2 separate regions of the Homo sapiens genome follow, and region 2 is linked to region 1. Evidence: promoter capture Hi-C in 16 types of primary human blood cells and fetal thymus (Javierre and others, 2016). All regions are on one chromosome and are shown on one strand. Each heading gives the region's core, a stretch centred on a gene start or on the middle of the fragment in contact. The rest is flanking DNA. Distances are from core to core; before and after follow the strand shown. Region 1 holds the start of SLC26A9 (solute carrier family 26 member 9). Region 2 overlaps RHEX (regulator of hemoglobinization and erythroid cell expansion).

Region 1 (3,838 bases), core at 516-3,015:
TGGGCAAAGTTTAGAACAGGTCAGGCTACCCATGACACTGGACAATACTGAAGATGCATGGACAAATTCTCGCCCTCTGGCTTTGCTTTGTTTAAAGACTCTATCATACAATTGTTCATTCATTCCTCAAATCTATATTGAGCTCCTCCTAAGTGCCGGGCACTGGGCTAGGTGGGTAGGGATACAAAAGAGGCACTGCCCCCTTGCCCTCCTCAGGGAGTTCACGGTGTTTGCAGAAAGACTGACAATTCCATACATAATTACCATTAATTGTGGTCAGTGTTATGAGAGTGAAGCAGAGGAAGCCAGAGGAACGAATGTGCAACATGTCAGCTAAGTCCACATAGGGGTCTGGGGAAGGGCTCCCCGAGGCAGTGTCCATGCACACATCCTTCCCTCAGCCAGGTGTCAGGGCACACTTGGGTCACTTGAATTCTGGCTCTCTTCAGCCAGTTGTCTGGCTACACCCTGACAACTCTGAGTGACCTCGGGTGTTTCCCTAGTCCCCACAAGCAATGCATCTACAAACTATCCCTTGGGTTGGGCTTGCAGACAATTCACTCTTTCATTCATTTAACAAATATTTATTGAGTCCCTATTAAGTACTGAAGCTAGCTCATTTCACCATGGGGAACTTTCGCCCCAACTTCCAGAGGTGCCTTACTGAAGCCCCCTGCACTGATTCCAGCCCACTTCAGAGCCTCTGGTTTCTTTTGGAGAGATGGGAGGACAGTTGAGGACGAGGACAGTGCAGCACTTGATGTCTCAAAGAATGGGCACCTGGTGTCGGGTAGTGACTCTCCCTCCCAGGAAGTAAATTAAGAAACTCCCCTACCCACCCTCCCAGCCCCTGTCCACAATTGCTTTCTGAGGTCCTTCCGTAGCACTCAATGGGCCTGGGATGGGCAGCTCTGCTGGCAGCAGCCGGAGCAGTGCCATGACCCAGGGAGACATTAATTCCTAGAAGCGGCAGAGGGCTGTGACTGGAGATTTGCTAGCCTTCAGGTCGCCTCTCATATAATTGTTCTAAGTCCAGTTTCTTGAGCTCTTTTATCAGATTCTAAACCCCTGTGTTCTCTTTGCACACTACCTGAGGGGCCAGGAATAATTTCCCCCATTGCACTGATGGATAGACCAAGGCACAGAGCTCACAAGCAACTTAACATTGGGGACAGAACTGGGAACCAGGTCTCCACCACAAACCAAAACCGCCTAAAGGCTCCCAGGGCCTCCCAGACATGGTTCTTCCCCTTCCTCAGGGGTGTTCAGAGGACTACTGTCTTCCCACCCCCTAGATCTCCAATCTTCAAAGCAAGCATCCCCAAGAGCACACCCCTCAGGTGGCCTCAATAGCTCCCATTGTCCAAGAGGCTCTTTGGCCTGACCCCCAGCCCCATAAGCAGCAGGACAGCAAGCTCAGAGGAGCTTGTCCTGCCTTGTCCCCCTCCTCTGCCTCGTCCCCCTCCTCCAGGGCCGCCTTGGGGGAGCCGGTGGGGCAGGAGCCCCGCTGAATGTGACCTATTGTCTTCGGGGTGGATTTAGGAAGTGCCAAGCTCCCATCACACAGCCCTGCTCCCCAGGTAAAACAAAAAAAGGGCTGTTCATTTGGGACCTTTTCCCCCTTATCTCCTTTTCCTATCTCCTCAGGCTTAGCTATGGTGTAGTGTTCAAAACCACTTCCCCTCTGAGCCAATCAGAAGCCGGGGCTCACCCCGTGGCCCTGAGGAAAAGTTATTTATAAACGCCTCCCTGGATTATTTGAGCAGAGCCCTTTCACACACCTCAGGAACACCTTTCGGCTGCCCGCTCCCCAGACACACCTGCAGCCCTGCCCAGCCGGCTTTGCTCACCCACTGGTAAGCCCCACCCAGCCCAGCCCACCCCACTGGGCTGGGGTCATCCCTGCAAGAGGGCAGTCACCAGGGGTACCGAGAGGAGGGATGACAGGAACCAACTGCCAAGCTGAGCACAAGTAGGAAGGACACTCTGGCCCCTGGAGTCTGAGAGCAGCCTCCCAGCCCTTCCCCTCTGAGGAGCCCTTTGGGTCTTCACGTCTATGTAAGGACCTGGGCTGCAAGGCTGGGCTTGACTGAGGGAGCAAGTAGGGTGAGGGTGTGGTGGTCGCCAGACCCCGAAACAGAGCGAGGCAAAGGCCTCCGAGGGAAAGGAAAATGTTAGACCTTCCTCCGCGACAGCCTTTGAAGCTGTGGGCTGCTCCTCTCCCTTTCTTTTCAAGTCTTGGAGGGAAAAGCTCTTAATGCTTGACTCACCAGCCTACTCTGCATGGCTGTCTCCCCCTCCTTCTACCGCCCAGACATCCTCCTTCACTCATGTACTTCTCCACCAGCTCGGGGAACTTAGCATGGACTACACAGAATCCCATGTGTCCCCATTAGTCCTGAGAAGTTGGAAGAGGTGGAGGGGGAGGAAACTGAGGAGTGGGAGAGGGTGAGCAAGGGACCAGCTCCATCAGGCAGGCGGGTGGGCGGTAGCTGGACCTGGGACGCCCGACTCAATGGTGAATGCTTCAACACAGAAGGGCTTGGGCCAGGACAGTGGATGGGCAGCCAGCTCTCCAGGCTCTCAGCCTCCAAACCCCTCATCCTGCAGCTCCAAGGGGTTCCAAGCCACTCTCAGGCAGTGCCCCCATTCCTCAAAACCAGCCCAGAGGGTCCCCAGCTGAGACCTAACAAAGCTTCTATTATTCCAGCATCAACTGCCCCCTTACACTTGGCCCCACGGGTCTGAGGACCAGAAGACCCTGGAGTGACGCAGCCCCCCAAGTGGGCAGACTGAGAGAGGGCTTTCCCCCTGAGTGGCTTCACTCATGCAGATGACCCTTTCTCAGAACCCCACAGTCCTCCCCCACCTCCCTCATCCTGGCCCTGGCATCCAGAACCTGGCAAGACCCTGCTTGGGCAGCATGGAGACCAGCATGGCCAAGAGCACCTCCACTGCCAGGAAGGCCTTCCCAGGCACTTCCCAGAGCTAGCCACCTGCTCTCTGAGTCTCATTTGTATAAACCCTGGGGCAGAGACGGACTCCTCTTTATCTTTTAATGCCCAGAGTCTTCCGGAGATTGGCATATACCCAGTATTCAAGAGTGCCTCTTAAACCGTACTAAACAGCCAGACTGACCCCCGTGAACTTGCTGGGGGAATCGAGGACCAGCTCAACACTGACCAAGCTTTGGGGGCTGTGGGGTCACTACTTGGAAGATGGAAGGGGCAGAGCCACCCCTTCAAGGGGAGTTGATCTTCACTGGATGCCTCTCTGGGCTTTCGCCTGGATTTCTGGGACCAGAGCAGCTGGGCCCTTCACTGGTCTCCTTGCCCAGGCCCTGCTTCCAAGTGAAAGCAACCCCAGTCTCCTTAAAGACTTCTAGGAATTTAACCTCAAGTGCCCATTCCAGGGAGCCCATGACCTTGTCAGTCTTGCTGTTAGGAAGTGATTCTCAAAGTCTAGCCTTGGTCCCTCTTTCTGGAGCCTATTTCCTCAGCCCAGCACCCATTCCCAGCAGGGAAAGTGCAGAGGAGGGAGAGTTCGCCTGGAGATAAGGAGTGGGGATTTGGGGGGTGGTATCAGTGAATCTCTCTCCTACACGGGATGCAGTCTCTAAGACACCTTAGGGACATCTCATCCTCCCCTACACTGAGGAGGAAATTAGGCTGGGGTGAGGAGTAGGGAGAGATTTGCCCTGGAAACACAGGGACAGTAGAAGGAAAAGGAGTGTTTAAAAATGCCTTGGGGGGCTGGGCGCAGTGGCTCAGCCTGTAATCTCAGCACTTTGGGAGGCCAAGGAGGGCAGATCACTTGAGGTCAGGAGTTCGAGACCAGG
Region 2 (3,838 bases), core at 649-3,148, 150 kb before region 1:
CCTTGAGGGGGTTGGCCAGTAGGTTGCCTGGGCTGTCTTCCAATACTACACTCAAAGCTTTTATTTTTTAAGGCTCCTCTTCTACTTTATTTATTTAAAATTACACAACTAGTAGACATTTGTAGTCAAAGAATTAAAAATATGAATGAGCAACACGTTTTAGAAAATCGCCCCAAATTGAGCCGGACACAGTGGCTCATACCTATAACCCCAGCGCTTTGGGAGGCCGATGCAGGTGGATTGTTTGAGTCTAAGAGGTCAAGACCAGCCCGGGTAACATAGCAAGACCCCATCTCTAAAAACATACAAAAAAATTAGCTAGGTGTGCCTGGCACGTGCCTATAGTCTCAGCTACTCAGGAGGCTGAGGTGGGAGGATCACCCGAGTCCAGGTTGAGGCTGCAGTGAGCCATGATCATGCCACTGCACTCCAGTCTGGGTGACAGAGTGAGATCCTGTATCAAAAAAAAAAAATTACCCCAAATCTTTTTTTTTGAGATGGAGTTTTGCCTTGTTGCCCAGGCTGGAGTACAATGACACGATCTCGGCTCACTGCGACCTCCACCTCCCAGGTTCAAGCGATTCTCCTGCCTGAGCCTCCCAAGTAGCTGGGATTTCAGGTATGCACCACCATGCCCTGCTAATTTTGTATTTTCAGTAGAGACGGGGTTTCTCCATGTTGGTCAGGCTGGTCTCGAACTCCCAACCTCAGGTGATCCGCCTGCCTTGGCCTCCCAAAGTGCTGGGATTACAGGCGTGAGCCACCGCGCCCAGCCAAAATTACCCCAAATCTTATTCCATATCCTTCCAGAAAATTTTCTAAATATTTTCATGGATATAAGTGCATGTATATATGCAAATAATGTGTGTACACAGAGACAATGTCTTTAAAACATGGAATCATACAGATTGTTAGCTATTTTTTTACTCTTAATATATCGTAAACATGTTTTTTTGGTCAGGAAAAACCTCCCCTAAAAGGCTCCAACCAGGCGATCCACAGGCCACATTTGACACCTAATTTTTGTCTGATGAAGTGCTTTAGTGATTTGAATTTGTATGCCCCTAAACTGGGACATGATTTGTTCACTTCCTGACTAATCCCTAAAGGCATTTGAGTTTGCCACCTTTGAGTTTTACGGTATCATTTCGAATTCCTACCATTGCCCTTGATCAGTGTTTCTCGGTAGTATCTGACATTTGGAGCCAGACAAGTCCTTATTGTCTAAAACTGTCTTGCAGACGGCAGGTTGTGGAGCCTCCTGAAAGCCCCCCAGTGTAACAGGCCAGTGTAATGGCCAAAGGGACCCCAAATGACCCCACACATTTCCAAAGCCCCCTGAGGTAGGAGGGTTTGCTCTCAGTTGAGAATCACTGAATTTGATATATGTTCCATTATTTTAAGATTAATGCCTTATTTTGGCCCTTTATACAAAACTAGATTGCCTACACCATCTTCCACATTTTAATATATTCTGAGCATATACTCAGAGCGTACACTTTGGGATAGCGAGGTGGAAGGATCACCGAGGCCGGGAGTTTGAGAAGAGCCCGGTGACAGAGTAAGACCCTGTCTCCCTTACTAGCCAAATGACACACAGCAGCTCATCCAAATGAAAACAGTAAATAATACGGACGTCCAACATTCTTAAATACTAATTTCAGTTCAGTTCCCTTCTAGATGTTAATTATTGAATTCAGTGTCTCAGTTTAATAATTTCAGTATCTATAAAGTGAGAAGAATAATAGTTTCCTACTTCACAGAGTTCTTGCATGAGCTCAGTGATTTATGCTGTTTGTAAAGACCTTTATACAATTCCAGGCATATACGAGGCACTCAGTAATTATTAGGTATTATTCAACCCTAAAATCCTCCACCACGATGGTGACTAGAACTATTAAAAATTGGATTGGTCTATTTTAGAAAACTTAGGCATTTGTTTTGAGTACAGTTTGGAGATAAGATCCAAGGTATGAAAATTATGACAGATGTCATTATTTAAGTGGCTAATGGCCCCTAACCACAATGAGCAGGTTGTTCCTTGGGGTCTAATTGCAGACTGCTGATCAGACAATCAGCAGAGACATCTGCTCATTTGCGCGTGCACGTGACACACACACACACACACACACACACACACCAAATAACCAGGAAATGGGCAATTTAAGGTAATTATGTTGTGAAAAAGCGCATGGACTGTGTGAGGGTTTGGTGTGCCTCGTTCCATCCTCGAGGTAGGGACGGTTCTGTCCTCTTCCACTGTGCTGAATTTTGACATCCAGCCCCCACACTAATGTAGTGCCCTGCCAGGCACCTCAAAACCAAACTTTAGGCTGGGCACGGTGGCTCATGCTTGTAATCTCAGCACTTTGGGAGAGCGAGGTGGAAGAATCACTTGAGACCAGGAGTTTGAGAAGAGCCTGGGTGACAGAGTAAAACCCTGTCCCTCCTCCCCCGACCAAAAAAAACCCTACTTCGTCCCAGTGCTAAGAGCATTTATTTTGTTTGCTTCAGACTTGAGTTAAGGCTGGATTCCATTTTATTAAGTTTCCCTCCTCCACTGATACAGGAGCTTTCTCATGGCCTTTCCAATAGGTACAGCGTAATATCAGGGGGAGAATAAAAAGATGCCCACTTTCCTGCCATACACCATGCTTTCTTTGGATAGGTTTATTCTAGAAAGAACGGTTTAAAACAAGATCACAATAGAAGATGATTTCTATGAAAAATCATATGGATTAGGCTAGGCGCAGTAGCCCACACCTGTAATCCCAGCACTTTGGGAGGCCGAGGTGGGTGGATCATGAGGTCGGGAGTTCAAGACCAGCCTGGCCAAGATGGTGAAACCCCGTCTCTACTAAAAATACAAAAATTAGCCGGGCATGGTGGCAGGCACCTGTAATCCTAGCTACTCGAGAGGTTGAGGCAGAGAATTGCTTGAACCCAGGAAGCGGAGGTTGCAGTGAGCTGAGATCACGCCACTGTACTCCAGCCTGTGTGACAGAGCAAGACTCTGTCTGAAAAGGAAAAAAAAAAAAAGAAAAATCATATGGATCAAAGTAATTATAATCAACATTGTCAACTGACTTTATTAATCTTTTCAAATGAAGTAGCTGTAAACTTTCTTTGCTGTCTCCATTAATTTGTTGTTTTTAACATTAGCTAAGGTATAATGGAAAGAGAACAAAAAGAAGGGAGAACAAAAGAAGGGGAAAGAAGGGAGCTAGGGCCTGCCTTCTCCTGGCTCTGTCACTTGCTAACGGTGTGACTTTGGACAGGGAGATGTCCCCTCTAGGCCCTGGTGAATTAGGGAGCTTGGCAAAGTACTCCTAAGGCTCTTTTCAGCCCTGAGCATCCTGCTCTTTAAAGGCTGGGGTGAAGTAAGGCGAAAAGAAAGCAAAGCTGGATGGAAATGGAAAATTTAAAAATAAAAAAATCTTTATTTCCATTTTGTAACATTCAGCCTCCTCCACATTGCTAGACTTTCTCTCCCAGTTTAATATGCAGTTTCCAATAATCAAGAAAAGGAGGAAACACAAATAAACCAAATTAATAATATAGGGACTATTAATCTCAGAAACAGAAGGGATTAACATTTTTCAACAAAAATGGGGTACCAAAAAAAAGAAGAGGTTTTAAAAAAAGTTAGACTACAAAATTTTTTTTGATGAAATCTCAGTAAAATGGATAGTTTCCTAGAAAAGTATAAATTAACAAAATTGATTCCATATGGCACGGAAAGCTTAGACCAAAACCAAACCAAAATAACAAGAAATAAGTTTAGGAAGGAGCATGGTATCTAGCCACTAAAGACAAAGAACCTGGAGTCAGACTGCTT

What was found. Contacts are between HindIII fragments. The CHiCAGO score rates a contact against its expected background, and 5 or more counts as called.
Region 2: a contact is called between a fragment that was not itself captured here and the fragment with the promoter of SLC26A9 in region 1, in 3 of 17 cell types (M0 macrophages, naive CD8 T cells and M2 macrophages). The highest score is 6.8, in M0 macrophages.

The regions. Positions count from the first base shown.
Region 1 is chr1:205,941,383-205,945,220 of GRCh38, reverse strand. SLC26A9 (solute carrier family 26 member 9) reads left to right here and starts at 1,765. Exons shown (of 21, transcript NM_052934.4): 1 at 1,765-1,856. The region is part of intron 2 of SLC26A9-AS1 (SLC26A9 and RAB7B antisense RNA 1); the gene reads right to left. The HindIII fragment of the contact is 4,358 bases long and covers 1-2,697 here.
Region 2 is chr1:206,092,472-206,096,309 of GRCh38, reverse strand. All of the region lies in intron 1 of RHEX (regulator of hemoglobinization and erythroid cell expansion), which reads right to left. Among named protein-coding and RNA genes, the nearest start is that of AVPR1B, 23 kb to the left of the region's middle. The HindIII fragment of the contact is 3,685 bases long and covers 56-3,740 here.